Regions from separate parts of the Homo sapiens genome. Here region 2 is linked to region 1. The links are contacts of gene promoters, found by promoter capture Hi-C in human tissues and cell types (Jung and others, 2019). All regions are on one chromosome and are shown on one strand. The core of a region is centred on a gene start or on the middle of the fragment in contact, and the rest is flanking DNA. Distances in the headings are between cores, read along the strand shown.

Region 1 (7,723 bases), core at 1,707-4,206:
TTTTTCTGATACATTATGGTGTTAAATATGTGGTCCACCTGGAATTTATTTCAGTGTCGAATAAGGGCACAGCTTTTTGTAATTTCCCCAAAAGACTTGCTGGTTATTCCACCCATTTGATCTCCGCCACCAACCCCCCCCCCCCCGCCCACAACCCCCTACCAACTCCGCCCCCCATTTGTCTGAAGTGCTGTCTTTTATTCATTCATTCATTTAGAGACAAGGTCTTGCTCTGTTGCCCAGGCTGGAGTGCAGTGGCGTGATCACAGCTCACTGCAGCCTTGACCTCCCAGGCTCAGGTAATCCTCCCACTTCAGCCTCCCTGGTAGCTGGGACTACAGGTGTGTGCAATCATGCCCAGATAAATTTTTTTTTTTTTTTTTTTTTTGAGACAGAGTCTTGCTCTGTTACCAGGCTGGAGTGCAGTGGTGCGATCTCAGTTCACTGCAACCTCCGCCTCCTGGGTTCAAGCGATTCTCCTGCCTCAGTCTCCCAAGTAGTTGGGACTACAGGTGCATGCCACCACACCCAGCTAATTTTTGTATTTTTAGTTGAGACAGGGTTTCACCATGTTGGCTAGGATGGTCTCAATCTCTTGATCTTGTGATCCGCCTGCCTCGGCCTCCCAAAGTGCTGGGATTACAGGTGTGAGCCACCGCCCCCGGCCACAAGTTTTGTATTTTTTTATAGAGACAAAGTTTTGCCATGTTGCCCAGGCTAGTCTCAAGTGATCTGCCCGCCTCAACCTCCCAAAGTTTTGGGATTACTGGCATGAGCCACTGTGCCGGGCCTGAAGTGCTATCTTTATCATACATTGAATTCCCTTGTGGGGCTGGATCCATTTCCATACTCCATTTTGTTCCACAGATCGGTCTAGTCCTGCTTCAATACCATACTGCTTTAAATACATTGACTTTATAGTATGTTTTAGTATCGGGTAAGACAAATCCCTTTTCATTACTTTTCTTCCTGGACTTTTTATTCCTGTATGTTTATTCTTCTATATACACTTAAGAATCAACCCCCTCTCCACCCACCTCCCATCCAGTCCTTCTGGTAACCAATATAGAACTTTGAAGATACTGAAATTATATGCAAAATATACATTGCACATCTCCAGAGAGATAGTGCTAAGTTTTCATCAGATGTGCAAAGGGAACCCCTGGTTTACCTGTCTCTGTGAAAGGGGCCAGGGAGGAGCACACAGGAAGCCTGATTCCTCTCTGTGCTCCCACCCCTCACCTCCACCCTCGTTCCAGGTCCTGCCCTGGCCTCCATCCCACCTCCCCTAATCTAGTCCCCCTTGCTGCTCCAGAGTAACCCATTCTACCACCCAGGCCCTAGTCCAGGCCTAGGCCTGAGGTAGAATAGCTGATAACAAAGCTTTAATTAATATGTAAATATAATCAGGAGCCCCAGCTCCACCTCTGACCAGCTATGGAACGCACTTTGAGGCTTTTCACATTGTAGGGCCTCAGTTTATGCTTCTCACAGACCAGGTGAGAAGGGAAGGCGTAGGATGACTATGCCTCCTAGCAATCCCCAGGAGGATCCTTTAATCCCAATAATTTTCCTTTTTCTCCCCACCTTCCCACTCCCCATTTACTTTTTTTTGAGACAGAGTTCCCCCTGTCACTCAGGCTGGAGTGCAGTGGTGCGACCTCGGCTCACTGCAACCTCCGCCTCCTGGGTTCAAGTGATTCTCGTACCTCAGCCTCCCGAGTAGCTGGGACTATAGTTGTGTGCCACCACACCTGGCTAATTTTTGTATTTTTAGTAGAGATGGGGTTTCACCATGTTGGCCAGGTTGATCTCGAACTCCCAGCCTCAAGCAATCCACCCACCTTGGCCTCCCAAAACACTGGTACAGGCATGAGCCACCGCACCCAGCTCCCATTTACATTTTAATTCATGCCCTCAGCAGGGAGACTACTGGTTTTACATGCCTCCAGCAAATATTAATTATTCTGTCCTCTCTGTCAGTGGGTGGAATTCAAAACACTGGAGCCCAAGAGTGGAACTGACCAGTCCTAAGCAAGGTTAAATATACAAGTTGGGGCAGGCACGACCCTAGGAAAGACTTCATACAGTATCCTCCCGGGCTGCAGAAGAACCCAGGACTCCAGGAGTCTATTTGGAAGTTTATATAGGCAGATGCCAGGCCCTAGAACAGAGTTTCTCAACCTCAGAAACCTGCTGACATTTCGGGCCTGACAATTCTCTGGCGCAGGGGCTGTCCTGTGCATTGAAGGCGTGTAGCAGCATCCCTGGTCTCTTCTCATGAGACGCCAGTAGCAACCTCCTCGTTGGGAAAACCAAAAATGTCTCCAGACATGGTCGAATGTTCCCTGGGGGGCAAAATCGCCCCAAGTTTAAAACCATTGCTCTAGAAGTAGAGAGCGCAGGGGAAGCAGGTTAACTTGGGCTTCAGGGCCGGCCACTCTACTTCCTTCTGTCTGAAAGGGACATTATAAAGTCTTTCTCTTCATACCAGGCACTTGGGCAAGTCTTTTCTCCTATCTGAGCTTCAGATTTTCCATCTGTAAAATGGACTTGACGTTTGTAAGTCGTTTCTTCTCTTACCATCTGACGTTCCTGGAACTGCTTCAGGGCAGGGCAGGGCAGGGGGCGCCGTGGTGCCTGTGAGGTCCTGGGAGGTGCCCCAAAGAAAAGGAAGGATGAGAAAGAACAGATAGGGTAGGTGGTGGAGAGGGGAGGCCGGGCAGGAGGCAAGAGAGTCCTAGGGACACGGAGAGGAATGAGGCTTCCCCAGACCCCGCTTCTTGGAAGCCTCATTAATGTAGGTCCCCCAACCACAACCCGGCAAGCCAAACTCCCCGGATTCCCCTAGGCCCCGCCCACCACCAAGGTCCGGCCCACTGGCCCCGCCCATCCACGCGGCCCCGCCCCCGGCAGGCCCCGCCTCCCCTTCGCCTCCCGCCGGCCCAAGCTTGGGCTTTGCACCCGGCGGCGACTGAAAACGGTGGCTGCTGCGGAGCCGGCAGCGCAGGCGGGCGGAGCGGAGCTGCCCCCGTGGTGGCGGGCGATGCCCCCGTGAGCCTCCCTCGCCGCCCCTCCCCGCCCCGCGTGCCTATCCACTCGGAGTCCGCGCCAGCCTGGGGCCGGGCCGCGCCTACTGCCGGGTTCGCGGGGCGGGGTCCCGGGGCAGCACCTGCCCCGCCTTGCGGAGCCGCCTCGGCCTGTGGAGGCCCCCTCCCTGTCTGGACCCCGGCCCCACCTCCGGGTAAGTCAGCAGGCCTTGCTCGCCTGGGAGTGGACGTGGGGAGGGGGCTGCAGAGGTCTGGAGGACCACGGGGGGAGGGGGGCTCTGGCCATGAAGCGCAACGTAGGTATGTGAGTGTGCAGGGGCGGGGGTGGGGGGATGAACACAGGGTGTGAGAGGGCTCTGGGGAGGGGACTAAGGGATGAGAGAGGGACGTGGGGTGTTTGGGGAAGCCTGGAAAATGGGGAAGGGGGCCCAGAGTCTTGAGTTCTTTGCTGATGCTCAGAGCTCCTGGGGCCCTGGTCTTCAACAGCATTGCCTGGCATGGCATTTTTGGAAAGTGCTTAAAATCCCTCCTGGAAAGGGAGCTGGAAGGCAGCCTGCTTTTCTCCCTTCTGCCTGTGCCCTGGTTGAGAAGCAGCCACTTTTTCCTCAACGTGACACCGTTGTGGTGTCCAGAGGACCCCCTCCACCCCATAAAAGAAAAGGAGTGCTGCTTACTCCAGCCCTGGGGTGGGAAGAGGGGGCTTTGGGAAGCTGGGAATGCAGTTGGTCAGCAGCATGGTGCAGAGCCCAGGGTTCAGGGAGGCTTGGCAGGACCCTTGATGGGCAACTTGGGCATGCTCTCATTCATAGGGAGGAGCTCTTCCCTGACTGGCCGCCTGGGTACCTGGACTCCATGTCCCCATCACCTCTGGACAACTCAGCCCTGAGGAGTGGGTTTCTTCAGTGTCCTGGTCCTGAAGGCTCAGGAAGGATCCTGGAATGGGGTGGGCAATGGCATATCAAGGCTGGAGAACAGGGGGCATTGGCTGGCACTGCCACTTGGGGCCTGTTTCAATGTGGTCCTTCAGGGCTTGGACACCTGGGTGAATATGTGTCCAACCCTAGCCCCAGGGGTGTTATCAGGATGTAGGGAAGAAGGCTGCTGCTCCTTTGGTCCTGTCCTCTATCCATGATGACTTCTTAAGTCTGGGTTCCTTGGGTTTGGGGCCTGAAGTCATGGGAGGAGGATTGGGCCTGGTCAACAAGGGGTTAATGAGCCATCTCCCCCACCCCACCATAGTTGCTGCCAGCCACCAATTAGTCTGTAATCAGGCAGCTGCCAACTGTCCCTGGGGGCATGTGGGTAGCCTAATGGGGCATTCTTGGTTGGGAGGCGGGGTGGGTGGGTTGGCAGGGATGTGCTGGGGAGGTGACCCATGTGCCCTGTGCTTAAACCAAGCACCATGCCCTTTGTTGTTTGTTTAGGGCCCACAGACCCCTTCCCTGCCTTCTGTTCCTGACTGCCTTGCTTAGGGACTTCCAGCCCTGGGGTTCTACACTTATCCGACCCTTTGCAGGGTATGAAGCCCAGAGTTGGTTAAACTTGGCTTCAAACCCAAGCTCTGCCACTTTCTGGCTGTGTGATATTGAGGAAATCACTTCCCCTCTCTGAGACTCTTTCAGTAAAACAAACCCAGCTGCTATGTGGGTAGCAGGAAGGAGTGAGTGAAATGGTGGATTTGAGCTGCGCAGCACAGTGCCTGGCACTCAGGAGGGCTCAGCAGCTAACTGCTGAACTCATGAGCAACCCCTGTGCCAAGTACTTGCTGGGCGGGCGTGCAGGAGCCAGGTGCTGAGGACCCAGCAGGGACCACGGTCCCTTCTCCCAGGGCATGTGGTCTGTGTCACTGTCTTAACTATTCTCTCTCCCTCCCTCCTTGCTCAACGACGCTTCTGGTCTCTGGACTTTAATTGGATTTTACTGCGCAGAACCCAGGCCTAAAGCTGCTACTCTCTGGGCTTCCCAACTTCCTGCCCAGGTGCTGAGCTCTGTGGGGTCTGTCAGGGGTCTGGGTGATGTCTGCAGCTGCAGTAGCAGCTGGCCCTTTAAGGAGGGAAGAAAACAATTATCTGGCCTGGGCATTGCATCAGCTGGAGCCTGGAGGGTCCCTGGGGAGGGGGGAGCAGGCTGGTGGTTGATTTCATTAGTGCCATGTGAGAACTCTCACCTGCCCCACTCCCCAGCCACAACCTTCTCCCCCAGGCAACAGCTGCCTCAGTGCCTCCTCCCACTCCAGGGGCACCACCTTGGAGAGGTCTCTGTGTGTACCCCCCAGTCAATGTCATGGGCCCCAGAAGAGGAGGGAAGTGTCTCTCACATTGGCCTTTTGCTGACTGTGGCACTGTCTCTCCTGTTAGCAATCTGCTGACTTGGGGTGCAGGGTGCGTCTCCTGTACTGGCATTTTGCTGACGATGGGGGTGTTTCTCCCACACTGGCATTTTGTTGACCCAGGGGAGGAGTGACTTCTACACTGTCCTCACTGACAGTGGGGCTGTCTCCTACACTGGTATATCACTGACCTCACAGAAGAGCTTTACCAGCTGGGGTGTGTGTGAACTGAAGGCGGAGGTTAGAAACAAGTGCTCTCTGGTTGGAGGTGAGCTTGCTGGGAATGGTGAGTCACAGGGGTTGTGTGGTTTGGGGCAGAGAAGAGACCAGGCACTTGGGCATCAGACAGACAGGATTCAAATCTAATGCCTTCCGCTTCCAACCTGTTACCACTTCAGGCAGGTGGCCTCAACTACCAAGTCTCAGTCTCCTCTGGAAAATAGGAATAATTTATACCCATACTTCTCCACCCCATCTGGAATGTGGTTAGGGAATTAACTGTAGTAACCAGATGTATAGTACCTAGTCTAGAGCTGGCAGGGGGAGGGTGCATACTGTATGATGGTTCTCTTCCCTTTGCAAGTTTGGGCTTTTCATAGCTTGAGCTCAAGAAGCCTGGACAAGAAAAGGAGGGTCCGGGAGGAGTGAAGAAAAAAGGAGAAAGAATGCCTGGCCCTCTTGCCTCTGTGGCAGAAGGATGCATTCAGTCCACCAGGTACCTCTGATGTATCAGACTCTATGAGCCAGGCGGCCCCTGCCCTCACGGAGGTGACATTCTAGTGGGGACATGACCCAGAGCAGGTAATTACACATGGCATGTGTGTAGAAAGGAGGGACTTGGGCTCTGGAACCTATCACTGAAGTTGCTCTCCTGCAGTCTGTAATCTGGGAAAGGTTCCTGGAGGTGGCGACATCTTAGCTGAGTCATGAAGGGTGCCAAGGAATTGTAGAGGCGAAGAAGGGATGAGGAAGGGGAACTGTGTGTCTGAGGCCCTGTTGATGGTGAGAACAGGCTTGGCGTGGTAGAGGGAGGGCAGTGTGGGCAGGCCCAGGACAGCCTGGCCCGATTTCCTAGTCTAGCAGGATACTAAAGACTTGGGAATTTATCCTCAGGCCAATGGCAACCCCTAAAGGGTTTTAAGCAGAAAAGGCAAGATCAGATTTCCCCAGAATGTTAGGGTCTATGGCCCTCAGGCAGAGCCTTCTTGGGAGTGACTTTTTGCCCTCTCCTACCCTTTTCCCTGTGCAGCAGCCTCGGTCCCAGGGAACCGGTTGTTTATGTGGCTGGCCCCAGGAGGGAGGACAGCCAGTCCCAGTCCCTCCAGCTCCTTCTCTCTGGTCTAAGCTGTATCGTGGCCTTGTTGACAAAGCTCAGCCCTTGGGGCCAGGTTCTCCCAACCTCCCTGGGGAGCCAGAGGGCAAGAGGCAGGGTTTTGCACCAGGCTGCTCTGTGCCCACATCCCAGCTCTGCAGTTCCTGAGCTGGGTAATCTCTGGGAAGGCATACCCGTCTCTGAACTTCTGTGTCCTCAACTATAAAATGGAGTTGATGATATCTCTAGGAAAACGATAAAGTGAAATTCCACATGGAAACCATAAACCCTATCTGGATGTCAGTTGGCATTTTTACTCTGTTGTGTGGGGGCTGACATCAACTCTGGGCCGGGCCCAGGGCTGGCTGGGGGTGGGAGCAGGGCTGGTTTCAAGAGTCAGTGGTCACGCAGGGCCCTGCGCCTAGAAGGACCCCACACTTAATGTTCTGCTGACACCGTCTTAAAATTTTTAGTAACTTTGAACAAGGGGTCCTGCATTTTCATTTAGCACTGGGCTCTGCATATTATATAGCCCCACAAATCGGGTAGGGGTAGGAAGAGGCAGGGAGAGACATGGATCTGCAAATGGTTCCCAAGGATGAGGTGGAGGGCATTACTAACTGTCCCAAGGTGGGTGGGATGTTAATAAGAATAACACTTATTTAGTGCTTACTGTGTGCTAGTTCTCTGCCCATCGCTTTACATGCTCATCTTTAAACAGTCCTATGAGGTAGGTACTATTATCATCTCTGTGGTATAGATGAGGAAACTGAGGTGACCTAGCCAAAGTCGCACAGCTATCAAGTGGCAGAGCTGGGATTCAAAACCAGGTTGTCCAACTGCAGAGCAATGCTTACACCAGGGAAGTCTCCACCTAGGAGGAGCGACCACCTGCCCTGGGTTTGGAGGATAACTTGGAGTTTGCCCAAGAGGAAGAAGTGCAGTGGAGAAGGGAGGACTCTCTCACCTGGGAAGTGTCCAGGCTAAGGGCATGATGCTTGGCCAGGAGATGGGGAGCCAAATCCTGGTGCC
Region 2 (7,723 bases), core at 3,747-6,246, 280 kb before region 1:
ACTTCGTGTATCTGCCTTTTCTCCTTCATGCTTTCCTGCCATTCATGACTCATTGCTAATCAATTTTCTCTCTTCCTTGTGCCAGTTTTATAGCCAGGCTTCGCCATCTGCCTGGTGGGCGAGTTGTGTTAGTCTGTGTTTGTGTTAATAAATTAGTTCGAGTAATATTATCTGTGCTGGCTGCTAGGAATACAGACAACAGTTAGCCCTGGTGTCTGCCCTAGGGAAGCTCACAGTATGGGGTGGGAAGGGGAGGCTGCTATTCCCGCACTCTGCGAAAGGGCTGCTGGATAGGGTAGCTTTACTGTTAAGGGTGGGACTGCACTGTATTTAGGGCATGTTTACTATGCCCCAGTGAGCCCTGGGCAACACAAGGGCCCCTTTGGCTCTCTTGGCTCTGAAAAGGAAGCCAGGAGTCTTGGTGGGAAACCTCTAATAGCCGGGGGAGGGAAACGCTGTCCGGGAGAAAACCCTATTTGTTAGCAGTCTGGGAGTCATCTGTCCTTCCAGGCCGACTTTTAGTAACCATAACATCAGTTAAAATAATTTTTTTTTTTTTTTTGACACGAAGACTTGCTCTACTGCCCAGGCTGGAGTGCAGTGGTGGGAGCTCGGTCCACTGCAACTTCTGCCTCCCGGGTTCAAGCAATTCTGCTTCAGCCTCCCGAGTAGCTGGGATTACAGGTGTGCGCAACCATGCCTAGCTAATTTTTGTATTTTTAGTAGAAATGGGGTTTCACCATGTTGGCCAGACTGGTCTCAAACTCCTGACCTCAAGTGATCCATCTGCCTTGACCTTAAAATAATTTTTAATAAAGATGATTTTTAACATTGTTACAAAAGTAGTAATGTGCTCAATGAAAAAAATTTCAGTGATAGAGAAATAAAATGAATTTCAATCTTTGCCTTCAATCTGTCTCACTGTTAACACTTTAGTATGTTAATTTCCAGGTATACATAATAGATATTATAATCATATAGCTACATATGTGTATGTGTTTTTATAATCAAATATATGTGGAAAGAGCTAGAGAGATTATTGTCTTTCTTTTTTATTTTTTTATTTTTTGAGACGGAGTTTCACTCTTGTCTCCCAGGCTGGACTCCAATGACGTGATCTCGGCTCACTGCAACCTCCGTCTCCCTGGTTCAAGCCATTCTCATGCCTCAGCCTCCCGACTAGCTGGGATTACAGGCACGTGCCACCATGCGCAGCTAATTTTTGTATTTTTAATAGAGACGGGGTTTTGCCATGTTGGCCAGGCTGGTCTTAGAACTCGTGACCTCAGGTAATCCACCCACCTTGGCCTCCCAAAGTGCTGGGATTACAGGCATGAGCCATTGCGCCTGGCCAAGAGATCATTTTCAAAATATAAATAAAAATATAATAAAATATTAGGCCGGTCGTGGTGGCTCACACCTGTAATCCCAGCACTTTGGGAGGCTGAGGAGGGTGGATCACCTGAGGTCAGGAGTTTGAGACCAGCCTAGCCAACATGGTGAAACTCCGTCAAACCCTGTCTCTACTAAAATTACAAAATATTAGCTGGGTGTGATGACACGCGCCTGTAATCCCAGCTACTTGGGAGCCTGAGGCATGAGAATTGCTTGAACCCAGGAGATGGAGGTTGCAGTGAGCTGAGATCGCACCCCTACACTCCACCCTGAAGGTTAGAGCAAGACTCTGTCTCAAAAAAAAAGTATATATATATATATATCTATATATAATATTAAACATATAAAAATACCTGTTATAACATGTTATCTATATAATAATATATCTTATAGATATACAATATACCTGTTATTCAAATTGCTTTGTCTTCCAAACGGAGAACTAATTTCCATGTTGGCAGGTGTAGATGGATCTCCCTCATTCTTTTTATCAGCTGTATAGTATGGACACACCATGAGGTACCCAATTCTCTGGTGATACTCATGCAATTCCTGTCTTTTGTTATTATAAACAATGCTGCAAAGAACCACTATATATTTCTCTTTGCTCACTTTTGCCATTATTTCAATAAAATAAATTCTCAAAGGTGGAATGGATTTGATCAAAGGGCACATAAATATAAAGTTCTGATGAAATAGATGAATTTCTTTCCAAAAATAATATTGCAATTTGCATTTGCCCCAGGAGTGATGAGATACCAACTGACACGCTCCCCAACACTGGGTGCCTTTTAATTTTTGCAGTCTGATACATGAAATATATTATCCCATTGTTGTTTTCATTTGGATTTCTGTGGAGTCAAACATCTCTTCCTGAGTTGATTGGCCATTTGAATGTCATCTTCTATAAAGTGTATTTTCCCATGTCGTTTGTCTATTTTTCTTTTCTTTTCTTTTTTTGAGACAGAGTCTCACTCTGTTGTCCAGGCTGGAGTGCAGTGGTGTGATCTTGGCTTACTGCAACTTCCTCCTCCCAGGGTCAAGTGATTCCCCTGCCTCAGCCTCCCAAGTAGCTGGGACTACAGGCACCCACCACCATGCCTGGCTAATTTTTGTATTTTTGGTAGAGACAGGGTTTTACCATGTTACCTAGGCTGGTCTTAAACTACTGACCTCAACTGAACCACCCGCCTAGGCCTCTGTAAGTGTTGGGATTACAGGTGTGAGCCACCACGCCTGATTATATTTTTCTTACTCATGGTTTTCTTCCTTCCTTTGTACTTTTTAAATATTTTAAAATAATTAATTAATTTTCTTTTTTTTGAGGCAGAGTCTCACCCTGTTGCCCAGGCTATAGTACAATGGCGTGATCTCGGCTCACTGCAACCTCCACCTCCCAGGTTCAAGTGATTCTCCTGCCTCACCCATCCAAGTAGCTGGGGTCACAGGTGTGTGCCACTACACTGGGCTCATTTTTTGTAACTTCAGTAGAGATGGGGTTTCACCATGTTGGCCAGGCTGGTCTCAAACTCCTGACCTTGTGATCTGCCCACCTTGGCCTCCCAAAGTGCTGGGATTACAAGCGTCAGCAACTGCACCCAGCCTGTACTTTTTTTTTTTAAGTTGATTTGTAGGAGGTCTTTGCATATCAGGTTATTAGCTCTCATCTGCCATGTGGAAAGCAAATCAGTATTTTTTATAATTTAGTGTTTGTCATTTGCCTTGCATATGTTTTTTCCCCCTACAGAAGTTTAAAAATATTTATGTAGTAAGATCTGTCCATCTTTTCCTTGATAACTTCTGGGATTTGTGTCATATTTTAGAAAGATTTTCTCCACTCCATGATTAGGAAAACATTCTCTGATATTTTCTTCTAGCATGTTTATGGTTTTGTTTTTTACCAATGCATACTTAATCCATCTGGAATTTATTTCAGTGCATGCAGTAAGTTAGAGATTCAGTTTGGTTTTTTTCCAGATGGCTCATCAACATGTAGTTTCCCCTTACATATGTGAAATGCCACCCTTATCATACACCAGATTTTCTTATGTGTTTAGGTCTATTTGTGAATTCAATTCCACTTTACTTCTTTGTCTTCAGTTTCTGAGCTAACACGCTTTAATTATCGTAACTTTGAACATGCTCATAATCTTTTCCAAACCTTTCTCACTATAATAGCAACAAATCTCCTGAGAAGCTGCACACCCTTTCTTTGGCTCTGTTAATGTCTCTACAATGAGGCCAAACAGTCTCCTCAAGGTGACTGTAAATCTTTCCGCCCACTTTCCTTTGTTTATTCCACACTGCGCACCTGCTCTGTGTCTTGGCTGTGTGGGATCAGGAGAGACAGAGGGAACAACACAGATGCAGACCCAGCTTTACATGCTAACTTCAGTGATTAACCCTCAAGGCCACTGCAATTTTCATGATGACAAGTTCAGGGACACTGAACTTGCTCCCAGGGACTCTCCTGGAAACCATGCCCGGATCTCATTGCTTTCGGATGCCCTCGAGCCATGGCTCAGCCAAGGCCAGTGGTAACAGAGCCAAAAGAAGTTAAATTTTAAATAAACCTGACTTCCTCTCCAACATTGTTAGAGAAACCCTGATCCAGTTCATTCCGTTCCCATTAGATAAGAAAAAGCCAAAAAAGATGCAGTCATTGGGAACTGTGGTATGCTGTGAGCTTTTGGAAATGGATTCTTTTCTTTCTTTGCTTTGCTTTGCTTTGCTTTGCTTTGCTTTGCTTTGCTTTGCTTTGCTTTGCTTGCTTTCTTCCTTCCTTCCTTTCTTTCTTTCTTTCTTTCTTTCTTTCTTTCTTTCTTTCTTTCTTTCTTTCTTACCTTTGTTTTTTCCTGGAAGGGAAGAAAATGGAAGAAAGACTCTTGAGAAGGCTAACTTGTCTGGAAATGGTCTTTGAAGCTCAGCAGTGAGAAGACAGCATATTATGGGTCTGGTCCTGTGACCTTGAGCACGTCATTGAACGTCTCTGGACCCCATTTCACAAACATTCAGGCCCAACAAATAGGCGCTGTGCCAGAAGCTTTATTTATGTACAGTCTTATTGGATGCTCAGAACATTCTTATGAGGTAGAATCATTACTCCCTGGTTTACGCACAAGAATACCAAGATTCAAAAGGGAAATAGACAGTATGCCTGAGGCCACTTATTTGGAAGGAGCAGAGCCAGCAGAGGGTGCTTCTCCCTGTTACTGGGCAGAGTAGCGGGGGTGGAGTGGGGCAGGGTTCATCACCCCTGCCAGGAATCAGGACCCACGATGAAGCTACAGCCATTAAGACAGTACGGTATCCACATAGGGACAGACACATTGACCCCTGAGAAGGAGTAGAGAGACCAGAATCAGATCCACATATATATGGTATATATATGCGGCAGGAGTGGCATATCACAGCGAAGAAAGGGAGGATGGGCCAATAAACAGAGCTGGAAAAATTACTTCACAACATAAACAAAGATCCGCACTAGATGTTTTAAGGACTTAAATTTAAAAAAATAAAACTTTAAAACTATTAGTAGAAAATATAGGTGGACTGCCTGTGGTCCCAGCTACTCAGGAGGCTGAGGTGGGAGGATCTCCTGAGCCCAGGGAGGTCGAGGCTACAGTGAGCCATGATCATACCACTGCACTCTAGTCTAGGGGATAGAGCAAGCCCCTTAAAAAAAAAAAACAAAAAACTTCTACAATTCAGTAAGAAAGAAAAATGGACACAAAAGGTATGAGCAGGAGTTTTTTGTTTGTTTGTTTGTTTGTTTTGAGATGGAGTTTTGCTCTTGTTGCCCAGGCTGGAGTGCAATGGCACAATCTCGGCTCACCACAACCTCCACCTCCCGGGTTCAAGTGATTCTCCTGCCTCAGCCTCCCGAGTAGCTGGGATTACAGGCACGCGCCACCACGCCCGGCTAAGTTTTTGTATTTTTAGTAGAGACGGGGTTTCTTCATGTTGGTCAGGCTGATCTCGAGCTCACGACCTCAGGTGATCCACCCCCCTCAGCCTCCCAAAGTGCTGGGATTACAGGCGTGAGCCACCATGGCTGGCCAAGCAGGCATTTAAGAGAAGAAGAAACACATATAGCCAGTAAGTTTAAAGAGATGTCGAACGTTGTTAGTGATCAGGAAAACACAAACCAAGGCTCGGTGAAATACCATTTTACATCCCTTCAATTTTCAACAGTTTAAAGTTTCATAATATGGAGTGTTGGAAGGATGTAGAGCTCCAGGATCTCTTGCATATTGCTGGTGGAAATTTAAATTGGTGACACCATTATGGAAAGGTCTGGCATAATCTTCTAAAACCAAACATTCTTATAGCTTATAACCCAGCAGTTTTACCCTAGCTGCACTGTCCATTCAGTAAAACTGGAAACCATCTGGGATCAGTTGCATTTGCTCATAATTATTAATTCCCTCTTCACCTTGCTAGGCCTCTTCGTTGGAAAAAGACCCTTTCCTAGGAGAGCTGCAGCTGACTCTTGGCCTCACAGAATGAGAACTAGAAATAAATGTTTGCTACAACAAGCCATTGAAGTACTGGGGTTGTTTTTTTCCTGTAGGAAAGGATGAAAACACACCCTATGCTAAATGGGATAGGACAGTGATGAATAGACCTTGGTATGCTCATGTATGGTACACAATAGACAGCAATCAAGATGAATGAACTGCAGGGACATGCCTCAGATATGAATTAATCTTGCCAATCTAATAGTAAGTGAGAAAAGTAGATCTCAAAAGATTATAGGCTGGGCACAGTGGCTCACGCCTGTAATCCCAGCACTTTGGGAGGCTGAGGTGGGCGGATCACAAGGTCAGGAGCTCGAGATCAGCCTGGACAACATAGTGAAACCCCGTAGTCTCTACTAAAAATACAAAAAATTAGCTGGGCGTGGTGGTGTGCACCTGTAATCCCAGCTACTCGGGAGGCTGAGGCAGGAGAATCGCTTGCACCCGGGAGGCAGAGGTTGCAGTGAGCCGAGACTGTGCCACTGCACTCCAGCCTGGGTGACAGAGCAAGACTCCGTATCAGGGAAAAAAAAAAGATTATATTATTTCGCGAAGTTAAAAATGACTAACATTAAAAGTACTCTTTTGAGCCTTTGAGCAACAGCAACACAAGATGGTAGCCAATTTATGAAAACAGAATATGCAGCTACAAAAATAGAATATGGACCTAAATACTCCACAGCACCTCCGTTTGTAAGATTTGTAACAAAAATTAATAAGAATGGAGTTAGTAGTTCTAATGGAGTGGTGGACCAAGAACCTTATTAGTGCTAGCAAAATGGCAGAATCCATATAACATCAAAGTTGTCCTGCAAGAGCTTCAGCGCCTAAAGATGTCTAGTGAAAACATGAAACTCCCTCAGCTGCCTGAAGGACAGCATTACAGCAATTATCCAAAAGGAAAACCACAGGCCCTTTTCCTTCCCCCTGGAGTTTGCTTTAAACGACTTCATTTTCCACAGTAGTAAATTTTCTAGATACATCTCGTAGACCTCAAAGTACAGGAAAAGAAGCTCACTCAAAGGAAATTTATCTTAAGATACTGTAAATGATACTAATTTTGGTCCATTTGAAACATATAAGTTGTGCTATAACCAAAAATGTACTCTTAAGGAATACATATTATTGCAAGAAATTATAACAAGGAAAACGAGAATGGTGAGCAGACAGGACCCAGGCTGATGGGGACCTGGTGCCAGGGAAGGAAGGCTGACTCATCCATGAAGCACCATAGGCACCATGCCTAGGGCCCAAAATACTTTTAGAGGTCCATGAAAATGTGTTTTTTGTTTTGTTTTGTTTTGTTTTTTGAGACAGAGTCTCACTCTGTCGCCCAGGCTGGAGTGCCGTTGTGCTATCTTAGCTCACTGCAACCTCTGCCTCCTGGTTCAAGCGATTCTCGTGCCTCAGCCTCCCGAGTAGCTGGAACTACAGGCACGCGCCACCATGCCTGACCAATTTTTAATTTTTGTATTTTTTGTAAAGACGGGGGCCTCGCTATGTTGCCCAGGCTGGTCTCGAACTCCTGAGCTCATGATCCACCAGCCTCAGCCTCCCAAAGTGCTGGGATTACAGAAGTGAGCCACCGCACCCGGCCATTATTATCTTTTTAATCAGAAGAAACTAATGAACTTTTTAGTTCAAAGAAAATGTTTTACTATATAACAACATATTCTTTATTACCAATGCAATCATAAAATATACGTATACATATATATTTTTGTACACGTCTGGTATACATATATATTTTTGTGCACGTGTATATGTGTGTTTAGGAAGAGGCCCACAAAAGCAAAATGTCCCGGATC

What was found. Contacts are between HindIII fragments. The study calls those that stand out against the background at their distance.
Region 2: a contact is called between a fragment that was not itself captured here and the fragment with the promoter of RIMS3 in region 1, in 1 of the 25 tissues and cell types used here (aorta).

Annotation. Positions count from the first base shown.
Region 1 is chr1:40,660,915-40,668,637 of GRCh38, reverse strand. It overlaps RIMS3 (regulating synaptic membrane exocytosis 3), which reads left to right and starts at 2,956. Exons shown (of 8, transcript NM_014747.3): 1 at 2,956-3,244. It overlaps LOC105378675 (a long non-coding RNA gene), which reads right to left. Exons shown (of 2, transcript XR_947238.3): 2 at 962-2,650. RefSeq lists a silencer at 2,811-3,240 and an enhancer at 4,688-5,345. The HindIII fragment of the contact is 12,473 bases long and covers 2,168-7,723 here.
Region 2 is chr1:40,941,332-40,949,054 of GRCh38, reverse strand. It overlaps the pseudogene UBE2V1P8. Among named protein-coding and RNA genes, the nearest start is that of CTPS1, 35 kb to the left of the region's middle. RefSeq lists an enhancer at 3,725-4,224. The HindIII fragment of the contact is 5,918 bases long and covers 2,038-7,723 here.